Regions from separate parts of the Homo sapiens genome. Here regions 1, 3, 4 and 5 are each linked to region 2. Evidence: promoter capture Hi-C in human tissues and cell types (Jung and others, 2019). All regions are on one chromosome and are shown on one strand. Each heading gives the region's core, a stretch centred on a gene start or on the middle of the fragment in contact. The rest is flanking DNA. Distances are from core to core; before and after follow the strand shown. Region 1 overlaps LOC105374224 (a long non-coding RNA gene). Region 2 holds the start of NLGN1 (neuroligin 1). Region 3 overlaps NLGN1 (neuroligin 1). Region 4 overlaps NLGN1 (neuroligin 1). Region 5 overlaps NLGN1 (neuroligin 1).

What was found. The method cuts DNA at HindIII sites, captures the fragments that hold promoters and counts their contacts. A contact is called where the count stands out against the background at its distance.
Region 1: a contact is called between a fragment that was not itself captured here and the fragment with the promoter of NLGN1 in region 2, in 2 of the 25 tissues and cell types used here (H1 embryonic stem cells and mesendoderm cells).
Region 3: a fragment that was not itself captured here is called in contact with the fragment with the promoter of NLGN1 in region 2 in 3 of the 25 tissues and cell types used here (H1 embryonic stem cells, mesenchymal stem cells and neural progenitor cells).
Region 4: a contact is called between a fragment that was not itself captured here and the fragment with the promoter of NLGN1 in region 2, in 4 of the 25 tissues and cell types used here (H1 embryonic stem cells, adrenal gland, hippocampus and 1 more).
Region 5: a contact is called between a fragment that was not itself captured here and the fragment with the promoter of NLGN1 in region 2, in 1 of the 25 tissues and cell types used here (hippocampus).

The regions. Positions count from the first base shown.
Region 1 is chr3:173,236,407-173,239,115 of GRCh38, forward strand. The region is part of intron 3 of LOC105374224 (a long non-coding RNA gene); the gene reads left to right. Among named protein-coding and RNA genes, the nearest start is that of SPATA16, 97 kb to the left of the region's middle. The HindIII fragment of the contact is 3,644 bases long and covers 1-2,709 here.
Region 2 is chr3:173,396,402-173,399,101 of GRCh38, forward strand. It overlaps NLGN1 (neuroligin 1), which reads left to right and starts at 1,343. Exons shown (of 7, transcript NM_001365925.2): 1 at 1,343-1,662. RefSeq lists an enhancer at 1-111. The HindIII fragment of the contact is 5,603 bases long and covers 1-2,700 here.
Region 3 is chr3:173,528,438-173,531,137 of GRCh38, forward strand. The region is part of intron 1 of NLGN1 (neuroligin 1); the gene reads left to right. Among named protein-coding and RNA genes, the nearest start is that of NLGN1, 130 kb to the left of the region's middle. The HindIII fragment of the contact is 5,549 bases long and covers 1-2,700 here.
Region 4 is chr3:173,546,603-173,549,302 of GRCh38, forward strand. The region is part of intron 1 of NLGN1 (neuroligin 1); the gene reads left to right. Among named protein-coding and RNA genes, the nearest start is that of NLGN1, 150 kb to the left of the region's middle. The HindIII fragment of the contact is 6,570 bases long and covers 1-2,700 here.
Region 5 is chr3:173,589,795-173,592,494 of GRCh38, forward strand. All of the region lies in intron 1 of NLGN1 (neuroligin 1), which reads left to right. Among named protein-coding and RNA genes, the nearest start is that of NLGN1, 190 kb to the left of the region's middle. The HindIII fragment of the contact is 5,962 bases long and covers 1-2,700 here.

The DNA.
Region 1 (2,709 bases), core at 201-2,700, 160 kb before region 2:
TTCAAATTTTGATTTTTTTTACCAAGTTCTTGCATATGTTTTGTTAATGTTATTGCTAAGTACCCTACATTTTTGTAGCAACTGTAATTATTTTCTCTGAAGTCAGCTTTAATAAGATAAATTAATATAATATAACCAGAACCTATCACATGTGTGTAATTTGATGAGTTTTGAAAAACATATCGCTCACATAATCACTACCACAGTCAAGATAAAGAATTGTTTTTTTTTTTTTGAGACGGAGTCTCACTCTGTCACCCAGGCTGGAGTGCAGTGGCTCGATCTCAGCTTACTGCAAGCTCTGCCTCCCAGTTCAAGTGATTCTCCTAATTCAGCCTCCTGAATAGCTGAGACTACACGGGCCCGCCACCACGCCCGGCTAATTTTTTGTATTTTTAGTAGAGACGGGGTTTCACCATGTTAGCCAGGATGGTCTTGATCTCCTGACCTCGTGATCCACCACCTCAGCCTCCCAAAGTGCTGGGATTACAGGCATGAGCCACTGCACCCAGCCAAGCATTTTTATTATTTAAAACAATCCCTTGTTCTCTTTCCCAGTCCACCAAATCATCTCTTCTGCCCACGGGTAAGCAATGATATGTCTTCTGTAAGAATAGATCAGATTGTTTTCCATTGTTTTATACAAACAGAATCATATGGTATACATTGTTTATGTCTAGCTTCTGTCACACAGCATGCTTTTTGAGATTTACTCATGATTTTGCATATATCAATAATTCTAGTTCTTTCCAAATTATTTGTCTATTCACCTGTTCATGAACACTTCGGTTATTTCCAGGTTTAGGCTATTATCTTTTAAACTGCTGTAAACATTTATGCACAAGTCTTTAGATTAATTACATTTTCATCTTTTTGGGGTACATATATAGTAGCAGAATAGTAAGGTGTCATGTGACGTGTATGTTTAGCATTTAAAAAACTCCAAAACTGTTTTTCAAAGTGGCTGTACAATTTTTCATTTTTTATTTCCTTAAGTTTTCAAATGTCGTGGCTTAAATGTATTTATAGTGTTATTTTATTTGTATGTCTTTGCTATAATTCTACCTTTATACTTCTTAAATTTATTATGGGTTTTTATTATGTTTTTCTTGATCAATCCTGAAACAGCTTTGCTCCTTTTAGTTGTTTTTTCAAAAACAAGTGTTTTAGGTTTATTGATTCTTTTATTGTATTTTTCATTTATTTGAATTTGCCTTTTTTCTTCATTATTGTTTTCTTTCAATGTTCTCTGGATTTATTTATCTTTTTCTAGCTTCCCAAGATGAATACTGTGATGGTCTTTGATTTATTGCCTCTCAGCTCCAAATTCACACTTTAAAAAAAGAGAAAAGGAGTTGGCCTTATAAATATTTCTCTTTTGCCTACTGAGAGATCTTAAGGGACATTGAAGGAGAAAGATTTTTCTTCCTGCTTCTGGAGAGGGTTGCTCATCGACTGCTATAGAATATGCCTTTTTATCCACTGCTTGGCCTGCACAGAATCTTCAGGGCTCGGTGCTGATAGGGATCAGCTTTATACAGTGTTTGGCTACTGTGTGCTTTTTGCAGCCATTGACTTAAGCAGCAGCAACACAGACCAAACTCTTACATAGCATGGGCTACAGCCTTGGCCAAGATCCCTACTCCCTGCACTCTCCCCTCAGTCTCACATGAACCAGGCTTGGGGCCCCAGTGGATTGGCCATTTAATGACATTGCTTCCCAATCTTAACTCCTAGAAGCTGTCCCAGAATCACTCAGCCCATACTGTACAAAAGAAGAATGCTAGATTCCTGTAGAGGAAGGCTTCTCCAGCTCCTGGTTTCACTAGCAACCATTGCGGTGACTTCCTCCTTCCCTCCACTCTCTAATCTCCCTGCCCACTCACTCTTCACTTCCGTACTGCCCCAAACCCCACTCTTCCGGAATGCTTCTCAGTGCCTATTTGTCATTCTAACTTGTTTGTGTCTTGAAGGTTTATTTTCTTCCTGACACAAACACAGCACTATTCTTCATTTTCCCAGTGATGCCTCAACTCCATCTGATATCTGTCCACAGCTTTAACTTCTCTGCACTCCAGAGAGTTGTTCCTGCTTGTCTAGCCACTGAGGACCAGCTTTGGTTTAGCAATCCAGCAAACTCTTTCCTTAACTAACTGAGCCACAACCATATTTTCCTCTACAAGGTTTGAACATCTTTTCAAATTTGTCTTTCCTTGGGCACTCGCTCTCAGGCCTTGGATCAATTTCCATTAGAGTTCTCTGTCTATCATTATGGTAACTCTTCTATCATAATCAATAATTCTTTATATCAAAATGATTTTAAACTTCCCCTGATTTCTTTCTCCTGATTAGATTCAGCCTATGTAAATACCAACTAAGTTTCCGTGTGTTTTCTAATAAAGGCATTTAAGGCTATTAATTCCCCTCTAGTAGTAAATTGTTATATATGGTAAGATTTCTGCTACTGCTAGTGTTCTGTAACAAGAATTAGCTCATGTAAGATTGGTAAATAAGAGAATAATGCTTACATAATGCCTATATTGTTTTGGTTCATACTTTTTTAAGAAAACCAACATGTTAAGATTACATCTTACCAAAAGTAATAGCAGTAAAATGCAAAGTGCACTAGAATAGAATGTGAACTAATAATGCTGGATACTGTCAGCTGTGGGTGAACATAGTGCTATAAATGACATTTATTCATTCCGT
Region 2 (2,700 bases), core at 93-2,592:
TCATTTTGGATTTACATGCAGGAAACGTATATATGTTTATATACCGACCGCATAATATATAAATACATATACGCGTGCCCAAGGGCCTGGTTTTCGTCTCTCCTCCCCACGAAACGGAATGTTTTGGAGCCGATGGATAACAAGAACACTATTAACATTCTTTTGAGCCTGTTTTTTAAAAGGGGGAGGGAGCGTGAAGAATTGTTTAACATTTGGCCATCGTTTGGCTGCACACTAAGCACCACGAAGTATTTATGGTTGCAGATCAGGTGCAAACGGGGCTTAGAGAGAAAGGTAAGGGAGCTTCCTGCGTCCGCCGAGCTCCGGCGTTTACCTTAATCCCGGGGATTGCCGAGAACTTCCTATTCCCTGCCTCTCCTTCGCCTTCCCCACCTTCCACCCACCCTTCTCTGCTCTCTCTCTTCTGTAAACTCAACCCTTTTCCAATCCCATTGGGGTGGGGGTGGGGGGTGCTGGAGGTATAATCGTCTATTTGAGTTTAAATGCGTCTCTCTTTCCCAGGCTAGTAGCTGAGTTTTCCAATAGCCTTTCTGGCGGTTTTAGGAAATCGTGTCCTTTATAAAAAATAATGCTACCTAAATAAGTGTTTTAAACATCTGAAGATGCCAGTCCCTCACCCTATCCTCTGATGAAAATAAAAGCAATAAAAAATAATGAACTTTAATAAACTGGGTGGTTTTTTTTAAGCGTTGGGGTTCATGGAAGCTCCCAAACGCTTTTTTTCATTTAAAAAGAAAGATAACCAGCAAACAAACCAATCTCAGGAGGAGTCCACAGTGGAGGAGATTCGCCTTCCGTTTCTGCATAAAACCAATACATTTTACTTGGAGGGTAATTTGCCAGAGTTGAGCGAGACGAAGCCGTGTCTAAATAAGTACATGACACTAAATTTCCTTTTAAATCCACCTTTTACACCATGGCCAGTCGCTTGTTTAACTCCCGTTCAAGGGACACGGTTTTCAAACGTGACCTTTTGGGGAGATGTGGGAACTTCCCCTCATTTCTTCTTCTGTGCCGCTAACCTCTTTCCTCCTCCGCGCGGCATCTCCAGCCCCGGCAGTTTGTAAATTGCCCGTTTTGCCCACCCTCCTGGTGGGCGTTCTCTCCCCCACTCCACTCCTGCCCCCTCTGTCCTTTCTTCATTGGCGTCTTCGGAGCAGATGCATCTTCTTTCTTCTTGGCCTCACTCTCCCGTTCCCCCGTCAGTCCCCCCACCCGCGGCTCCCCACTTGCCCCAGCTCTCCTCGCCGCTCCTCCCCGCCTCCCCGCGGAGGGTTGACCCTTCAATTCGGAGTCCCGGCCTGTGGGCGGGCGGGGGAGCGCCGCGGCTGTAAGCCGAGGATCAGGCGGCGGCGCGGAGAGCGCGCCCGGGCGGCCAGCGCCGAGCGCGCGGAGCTGGCGTGGGGAGACACGGCAGGAAAGGCGAGTCGGAGTGGGTGATGAGAGGCCGGGAGAGCCCGTCCGAGCCGGAGAGACCGGAGAGAAGGGAGCGAGCGACTGTGCGGCGCTCACGCTGCCAGAGCCCGGGCGGAGTGCAGTCGCCTCCAAAGCCTTAGAGCGGCGCCCCAGTCACTGCAGCTCTTCACCCTAGAGCTGTGCCCTGGGACCACAGAGACCAAGAGCATGGAAATCGGCTGAGAGGTACAAAAGAAATAAGGAACAGATTACGAGAAAGCGGGGAGGGTTTCCTGGCGAAATACGGAGGCTGAGCAGATGGAGGAACAATGCCGCCTCCAGAAGAAAACCCTTGCCTGAACCCTCGGCGGAGCGCAGAGGAGCTGCTTTCAGCCTTCTGCTCTCCCCAGGCCCTCCGGCTAGTTCTGGGGTTGGTTCCGCCGGTTAGTTTGACAGGGATAAGAAAGTTGCTCTTCTTCCCCACAACGTTTCCTGAGAGGTGGTTTTCAGATCTGTGTGTTTCCAGTCAAGATGTCACTCCCTAGATCCCCCGCGTTGAGCAACTAATATATTATGCATTATTGGGCAATAAACTCTCCTGGGAAGAGAAGGTATTCCAAACATTTAAACCGTTCTCCACCGACTCCTGCCCGCCTCAACACAATGCCTTGTGAGTAGAAATGAAAAACCACCTGAATTTAAAATTATTTAGGTTGAGATTTTGCATTGGGAATAATTTCTTCCAGAGGAGGTTGTTAGTGTGTTATAGAGATGAGGGATATTACATGTCCAATATTTGATTCATTTGTGATAATTCTAAATCATGAACAGTTGGCCTCCACAAAGGTACTATTTCTTTTTGCATTTCCAGGGCCATAGTGATACATATAACACTTGGGAAACGTGAATTCGTATAGTTAACCCAGTATCTGTTACTCTGCATTTTTACAGGTAGTTAATATACTCATTTTCCCTCTTTTTATACTCAAACTCCGGTAGACTATTTTTGCTTAAGTCAATTGAGTTGTCATGCTGTACATGAAAATTACAGGGTCTTAATGCATTTCTCACCATTAATTGTGCTCAATTATTAATAGGATCATAGATATTAAAATGTCACTGAGAAAGGGTATGTGTACCTATGTTTGAGTGTAAAACCTATAAAATGTCTCAGCATTTCTATCAGCCATTGTAACCTAGCAGAACACAAGGTTTTTGAAATGAGCTCAGAAGCAAGGGCCATTCATATATTTAAAATATTAAATGTTAAATGCAAAAACATTA
Region 3 (2,700 bases), core at 67-2,566, 130 kb after region 2:
AACATCCAGTTGTTTTCTCAGTTTATTGTATCTGAATTTCTGCATCTCTAGCAAGATCAAGGAAATTTTCCTGCATTATTCCTTCAAATATGTTTTCCACATTTCTTAGTTTTTCTTCTTCTCTCTCAGGAGTAACTATAATTCATAGGTTTGGTCACTTCACATAATTCCATATTTCTCCAAGGCTTTGTTTATTTTTTAAAACATATTTTCTCTTTACTTTTGTCTAACTGGGTTAATTTGAAAGACCAATCTTCGAGCTCTGAAATGATTTCTTCTGCTTGGTCTAGTCTACTCTTAAAGCTTTCAACTGTATTTTGAACTCATTTAAGTGGATTTTTCATTTCCAAACGTTCTGTTTGTTTTTGTTTTTAAGACATCTATCTCTTCCTTCATTTCCTGGGTTGCTTTTAGGGTTTCTGTGTGTTGGTTTTCAACCTTTTCTTTGATCTCATTGAATTTTCTTACAATCTATACTTTGAATTTTTATGTAATTTCCGAATTTTCATTTTGGTTAGGGTCCATTGCTAGAGAGCTAGTGTGATCCTTTGATGGTTTCACAGCATTCAGATTTTACATGGTACCAGAATTCTTATGCTGGATCCTTATCATCTAGGGAAGCTGACACTTCTTGCTTTTGAAGTTACTTTTGTTTGGATGGAACTTTAAAAATCTATCTTTATTTTATTTATTTCCCACCCCACCTTGAGGATGTGACTGTACAGTATGTTAGGTAGGGGCCTTTTGGCTTTGCTTCTATGGTCCTGTGCACTTCTGTTGGCAGGTTTTATATTGCATTGTGTGGTTTGACCTACCGGCCAGTAGGTGGCACTTCCGGGTAAGAGCCAGCAGCGCAAAAGCAGGTGAGTACGTACTTGACACTTGTTTACTGTGAGGTGCTCTCTGTTGTTTCATGTGATGGGCTGGGCAGCCCTGTTCGGGGTGAAGGGGGGACAAAGATGGGCAGATCTGGGCCACCTGGCTTGCCCATGAATACTCCAATGAAGAGCACAAGCACCAGACTTAAGGGGGTGACAGTGGGGGCTCCTGGTTAAATGCACTGAGATCTTTGCTGGGGTTGAAGAGGCTGCACCAGCTGCATGCCCTAGATCGGCAAGAACTTGATCTGTTTATCACACCCCTGTCCTGGGGGCTTGTGACTCTTAGTTCAGATCCACACCATTTGTCCATCTATCTCTAGGCCACAGTGCAGCTGAATGCCGTGGGAAATGCCTGACCCTCAGCTCTCAGTAGGAACGGTTTTGGGGTGGAACCTCTTTGTTCCACCCAATAAAGACGGCTTTGTGGCTAACCTGTTCGTCAATGCAGTAATGTTGCTACTTTGTGTAGAGAAGGGGAGGATACCTTTCAGGATGTGCGTGAGGCTGGGTATTAGCTGTGGTGGAGTTGGCTGGTTGGGTTGACCGGCCTCTAGCCCTGGGTGGAGTGGTCAGGTGTCAGTGGTGTAGAAATGGACTAGGTAATTCCCCAACTCCCATGTTCCTAACTTATGGAACACTTTCTTTTCCTTTTTTTTTTAGATAGAGTCTTACTCTGTCACCCAGGCTGGAGTGCAGTGGCGCGATCTCAGCTTACTGCAACCCCCGCCTCCTGGGTTCAAGCAATTATCCTGCCTCAGTCTCCTGAGTAGCTGGTACAGTTACACACCAACATGCCTGGCTAATTTTTGTATTTTTAGTAGAGACAAGGTTTCACCATGTTGGCCAGGCTAGTTTTGAACTCCTGACCTCAAGTGATCCTGCTGTCTCGGCCTCCCAAAGTGCTGGGATTACAGGCGTGAGCCACCATGCCCGACCTTATGGGGCACTTTCTGTGTGCCTAGTTGCACCAGCCTTGTTTTCATTCCCACTGTGACTCTGAGGTAGGTATTATGATCCCCATTTGGTCAATGAGAGGAAGGAATAAAGGACACTGATGAGTTCTATGTGTTGTCGTCCTGGAAGAGAGAGGGTGTGGATGAATGAAACAGAAGTTAAACTCACCTAGGGGAGAGATATTTTCTGTTGGAAAGTAGTAGATATCACCCTCAAACATAAAAGCTATTCGTGAGGGTAATTTTCTGAGGTGAGTTTAGTTAAATTACTTACAGATATTTAACCATATGAGTGAATTAAAAATTTTCATCATATTTACTTAATTTAGTACTTTTTATTGAAAGCTGTTGGCGTTGGTCTTCTATCAGCAGAGAAAACATTATTGAGTTGTTATTTAAAGTGTTAATCTGATGGTTCTTTAATTTTTCACCTTTCTACTAAAAAATCTGATTTGATGCTGAGCAAATGCCTGCTCTTTTGTTTTAATTCTGAAAACAGAGTTTAAATAATTACTTTCTAGGCTCTTTATAGTTCATCATTTTTCTTTTGTCATTTAGTTTATAATTATATTTAAATGCTCTTTGCTTTAGTTAAAATTATTTTTACTGTTCGATGCTCATTTTTTAAAATGAGTTTTTAAAAGTATTTTGGGTTTTCTTGGGCTTTGCTTTAATTGACATAATTTTCCAGTTCTACCATTTTCTGAAGCTTTTAAAATCGTTCTTTCTTCTAAAATTCTCACTTTCATTTTTGCTAGTGTTTGACCTACTCTGCTCTTCATTTTTAGAATATACAATTACTTTATTAGAAAAAATTTATGGCTGTGTATTGTGACACTTACTTTTCTTTAAACTAACATGCACTC
Region 4 (2,700 bases), core at 89-2,588, 150 kb after region 2:
CTGAATTTTTCCAGGCTATAGTTCTAATATTCCGCTATATTTCCTCTGTCTGTTATGTATAGGTATGATAAGCCTTGGCAGCTGGGCTGCGCTATTAAATTCATGGATTATTGTTCAACTGATAATGAAATGATAACAACTGTCAAGAATCATTCCTTTACACAGGCTTTTACTTATACACATAAAGTTGAGCAGTGTCCACCAATGTTCTATATCTTGGATGAAGAAGAAAATGATTAAATATCTTATATTCTTGATTATAATGAGAAATACTATTTCCTTGCAAATATTATTTATAACTTAGAAAGTAATATGTGCATATGCATAAAAAAGCAATGAGTACAAAATTAAACAGTATAAAATAATAATGTGCCCTCTTATTATAAGTCCCTTGCTTACTCCCTGGAGGAACCCATTTTTTCAGAACATTCCCATGTTTCTATAAGTAAGATGTTCATTTTGGAGATACTCCACTTTGGCATACTTGTTAATTAAACTTGGGACTCGAAAGACTTGCATTATTTAAATTATTCTTGGGTAAAATTGCTATTTTTTTTCTCATGACTACTTCAGCGAATATTAGTCTGAATCTCTCCAAATCTTGTTTTCTTACTACAGACCACCATCAACTGTCATTTGAGTTCTCTATCATTATGAACTACAGTCTTGTAAATCTTTCATTCACTCAACAGGATTATAGCGCATACTCTGAAAGAAGTACTTCATCCTAATTAGTTCCACAGGTGCCTTTCCTTTAAAAAGGAAATAGTTTCCACACTGTCTCCAGAAGAATGTTATCGGGTCATTATGCCTTTGATAAATGAATGTGCTGCGGAGCCTGGGTTTCCCTGAAGGGTCTCTGCAACGCACAAAAATGCTGTGTTATAACTTTTGATCCATGATTGCCCTAATTTTCTCAATTTATCCAATATTATATCCAGATATGCAGTCCCAGATCTCCAATGAACCACACTGATGCTTCTTTGTTGATCTTATATACTTATTTTTCCTCAGGTTGCTACTAAACATAAGTTCTTCTCTTCATACTAGGTATTATGTGTCAGCTTTTAGCGAATTAGATTGTTTATTGCATTGGGATGAGAATAAAGTACTTACAGACAATGGATTAGTGGTTTGAATTCTTCCCAGGCTATCAGCAATCAGAAGTTGTTAGTACTCTCTTGGGGTCTATATAAAATGAAGGTGGTCTGATTACAATTCTGGGCCAGCAGGAAGGAGTACAATTTCTATTACAGGGGGGTAGGAACGGAAGTCTTGGTAAGGAGGCCAGATGTCTCCTTCTAATGGCTTATAAGAACAAAACCTGAACATGTTTTAATTTTTTTTTTCCTCAAAGCACTATCTCGGGAGTAGTGCTAAGGTATTTCATTCCCTCCCCACAATCATTTTCTCCCACTATAATAACTTATTCGTTAATTTACTTACGCATTTACTTCTTTCTCTAACACTCAAAAGTTCAAAAAGTTCATTGAGATTGTCTCTATTTTACTTGTTCCAAGCCAGTGCCTACCAAAACCAAACACTTTTGGCCCTTCACTTACCATATGCAGCCACCTTGTTAATCACTGTTTCTCTGGACCTCATAGTTTATTGCCTTTGCAAATAGGGGCTGTAAATCTATTGTGCTTCTCTAAAATTAATTTCTGGTCAATATATCAAAGAAGCTTTGATGACATTTGACCAAGGCAGACGAAGATACAAAAACCTATGTAAAATGATTCTGAAATGCTTCCTATAGATCAGCCAGACTTTTAAATCGTGTATGCCTTACTATAATGAAAAAGTGAAAGAGAAAGCATGAGGAAACTAGAGTAAACTGGGAACTGTGCTTGGAACCCAGAGTGATACCAGCACCTCACATTTTTTTTTTTTTTGTAGATCATGTGATGCTTCTGTAGTGGTTATAGAAGCAGTGTGATCTGCCTGTAGAGCTAATTGGCATCAATGAGTTTTAAGACAACTTTCTGAAGGAAAATACAGTATGTGATTTTAGTTTGGTAATGAAGGCTGGATTTTTATACTATTGAAACAGCTTGAAACTTTTGACCAAGGCCTGTAGAAAGAAATATATGTATTTAATATTAGAATCTAGCGAACACAAACACGCTAACACGTGTGTGTATGAAAGTATATATGTATATATTTATATATATGAAAGTATATCTATTTCTATATGAATATAATTTGAAGTGGAGATTCTATTAAATGATTCTTACCTTGCTATGTGTAATGTCCTCTGACATATTCTAGTATTTATTCTACACGGTACCACTAAAAAATAACTCAAGTATCTGGCCATATACCATTAGATCTATTTCATGCATGCTTAATGGCTTACGTACTGCAGTTTGAAAAACATTGTTCTATTGTTACTCCTTACGAATTGTGGATATATATTTCTATATTATGTCATTTTTACCACAATTGCTTTCATTTCAAAAAAAATTTGTGTTAAAACATGTTTACGCATTGGTTTTTTAAAGTACTGAAGACTACAAATATGTTCACCATCATTGTGGATTGAAATAGTTTGTAACTATTCCCTTTTCACACAACTAGATAACAAATCCAGATAAATTATATGTTTGAGAGTATCAAGATTTTTCTTTTCACTCATACTTACCTGTTTCCTGAGTAAATGAAAGATAGCTTCCTAGAGTGTTATTACAACATATTTAC
Region 5 (2,700 bases), core at 79-2,578, 190 kb after region 2:
CCTGACACACCCAATGAATGGTAGATCTACAGGAGAAGAAAAGAGGTTACTTGTAATGTTTGAAAATGAATTGAAAATTGTCATTGCTTTTTAAAAAACAGTCACAATGAGTACTCTCATATTGTCATATGGAATACTTTCTATGCTTGGAAGATCAACAAGTTCAAACATGTAATCAAGTAATATTGAGTTGATAAAATCCAGGTTGAGATTATCATTAGTAAAAGTTTTTTTCCATGTGACAACCACCACTTCTATGACAGAACTGACCAGAAAAAGTGATTACAGCATAGAACGTTGTGAATATTGTGAATGGTTGTCACAATATTCACACCTTGAAAATAAAACTTGAGCAATTTAATAGTTAACTATAGAGCTAAAAGGAATAAAAGTTCACTTCAGCAACCATTATGTTACAAGTCAGTGCATCTGTCATTTCTAATTTAAATCTGTATTACTTACTGTCCAACACTTTACACATAAGTGACAGTGTTATCTATTCTTTTTCTTATGGGTAGAAAAAGTCACCAGTTTCATTACCTGTTTAACTGTGCCAAGTGTTCTAATACATATGTTACTACAAGATTGATGCCAAAAGTCCCTGTTATTTCACGCCACGGTCTTTAATAACAACATCTAAGAAGGAAAGCGTTTTTTGTTTTGAAGGAATACTGTACTAGTAGTCTGTATAACCTCCACCATAGTAGGGGATTTTTGTCTGGTTTGTTCGGAGCTGAGTGTATTTCTCTTCATCGCCTAGAGAACAGTACCTGGTACATAACTGGAAATCAATAAACGTTTATTGAATGAATGAATGAAAATCGACTTGTGTTCTAGCCTTGGATGTTAGTAACTAAACATGTAACCTCTTTATGTAATGAATACCTGGGATCTTCATTTTTGCTTTTTAAAAAATGTATAATCAGTAGTTATTTGAATTGACAAATAATTTTAAATAATGTACAAAATTCCAAAGGGAGGAAGGATTCTATTCAAAAATTGAATATTAATTAGAGACAAATAGTAACTGAGGCTTTTTAGTGATTTCATATAGAGTTTATATACTTCACTTTGATAAATTATTTGATCAAGACTTACAAGTGTAGTAGGATTATTTATATTGTTATAATTTACTGAAGGTACATTAGAGCTATTTTCTTCCATGAAGAAAATGTGATATCTCAGGGAACGTTGGAATTACTAAAAGTTATTTCAAACAGGTAGAACGTGAACAATAAGACAATAAGATTTAAAATATAACGGTTTGGGATTTTCGTCATTACTTAAGATCTTTTTCCATTTTGTAAAACTTTATAATCCCATTCTCCCTATTATAAAATTTGAATTTAAATGGTGACTTTATTTGGCAACCTATATTCCATGTGTATATTAAATTCTTGTTAATATTCTATTCTATTCATTAATATATTGATATACTATTTGTGTTACACAAATGGCCCATGAACAGGGCATTATTTTGAATTTTGTTATTGTTATTAGTACTAATGCAACTTTTATATGAAGGAAGAAAATGATGTAGATATATAAAGGAGATTGCTAGTGTGATATTCTTTCTCCTTTGGATCACTGGTTGAGCTCTAAGCCAGGTCAGGAGTGACAGGAAACCATTATTGCTGTTCGGTGCCTTATGTGAAAGGCGTTGGTGGTCTTAGTCCAGTTCCTAGTAGACAGCTACTCCTTAAACAATAGTCACCACAGTATTTGCCAATTCCAGCAAAAGCCTGGGACTGAATGGACACAAAGGTTTAACTACCCACTCTCTGCTGATCATCCTCCAAGGGGTCAAGATTGACACACCCTGGCACAGGGCCATACTCAAACTTAGCACTGCCTCTGCCAAAGTTGCAGCTATTCTCTGGCAACAAGGGATTTTTTTTAACTGGACTTTAATTAAGCAGGGAACCAGGAATGGCAATTTTCCACTCTTCCCAGGCATGAGCAACTCACTACACACAAAAATAAGCTTAAAGAATGAGTTGAGACTGTAGCACTCTTCTTAGGTTGTGCTAGCTTCTCTATAAAGATACTAGCAGGCATAATTAAGTTGCTTCTGGAAGCAATGACTTGTGACCCAAAGGTGGCCCCTTCCAGACAAAATCATCAACTTAATATCAAGGGAAGTAATCAGCTCTACCAGGCTGTCTCTTCTGAGCTCTTGAGTGATTATTCATTTTCTTCTGTGGGATCACAGGGTCATCAATTGGTTTTAAAAATGTATCCTGTGGTATTTTACATATACATTAAAACTGTTGCCCATGACTTTTGAATAACATTCTGCCTCATTGATTTTTGCCCCTCTTGCCCCCTTCACCTCCCTGTTCATTTGGAAGTCAGGCTTCCTAAGTAGATTCTAGATTTAACAATTAATATTTGGAGATTACACCTGAAAATAGTTTCAGAATAAATAGAAAGTAAAACTTATATAGTTAATGTTAAATTTTTTTTCAGCCCTCCTCTTCAGAATAACAAAATAAAGAAGAAGCTGTCTAATATTTCGCCATTAGTTGTAATGATGGTTATAGCAGAAATACTCAGTTTTGTAATGCAGAAGACGATGCTGTCACCTTAATCTTTTTCTCTTTTTGTTGTCAGAAAAGCTATTATGGCATCTTAGAATCTTATTGTATTTTCTTTTTTGCCACACAATAGTGGAATTAGCTGCCAGTCTACATGGATATC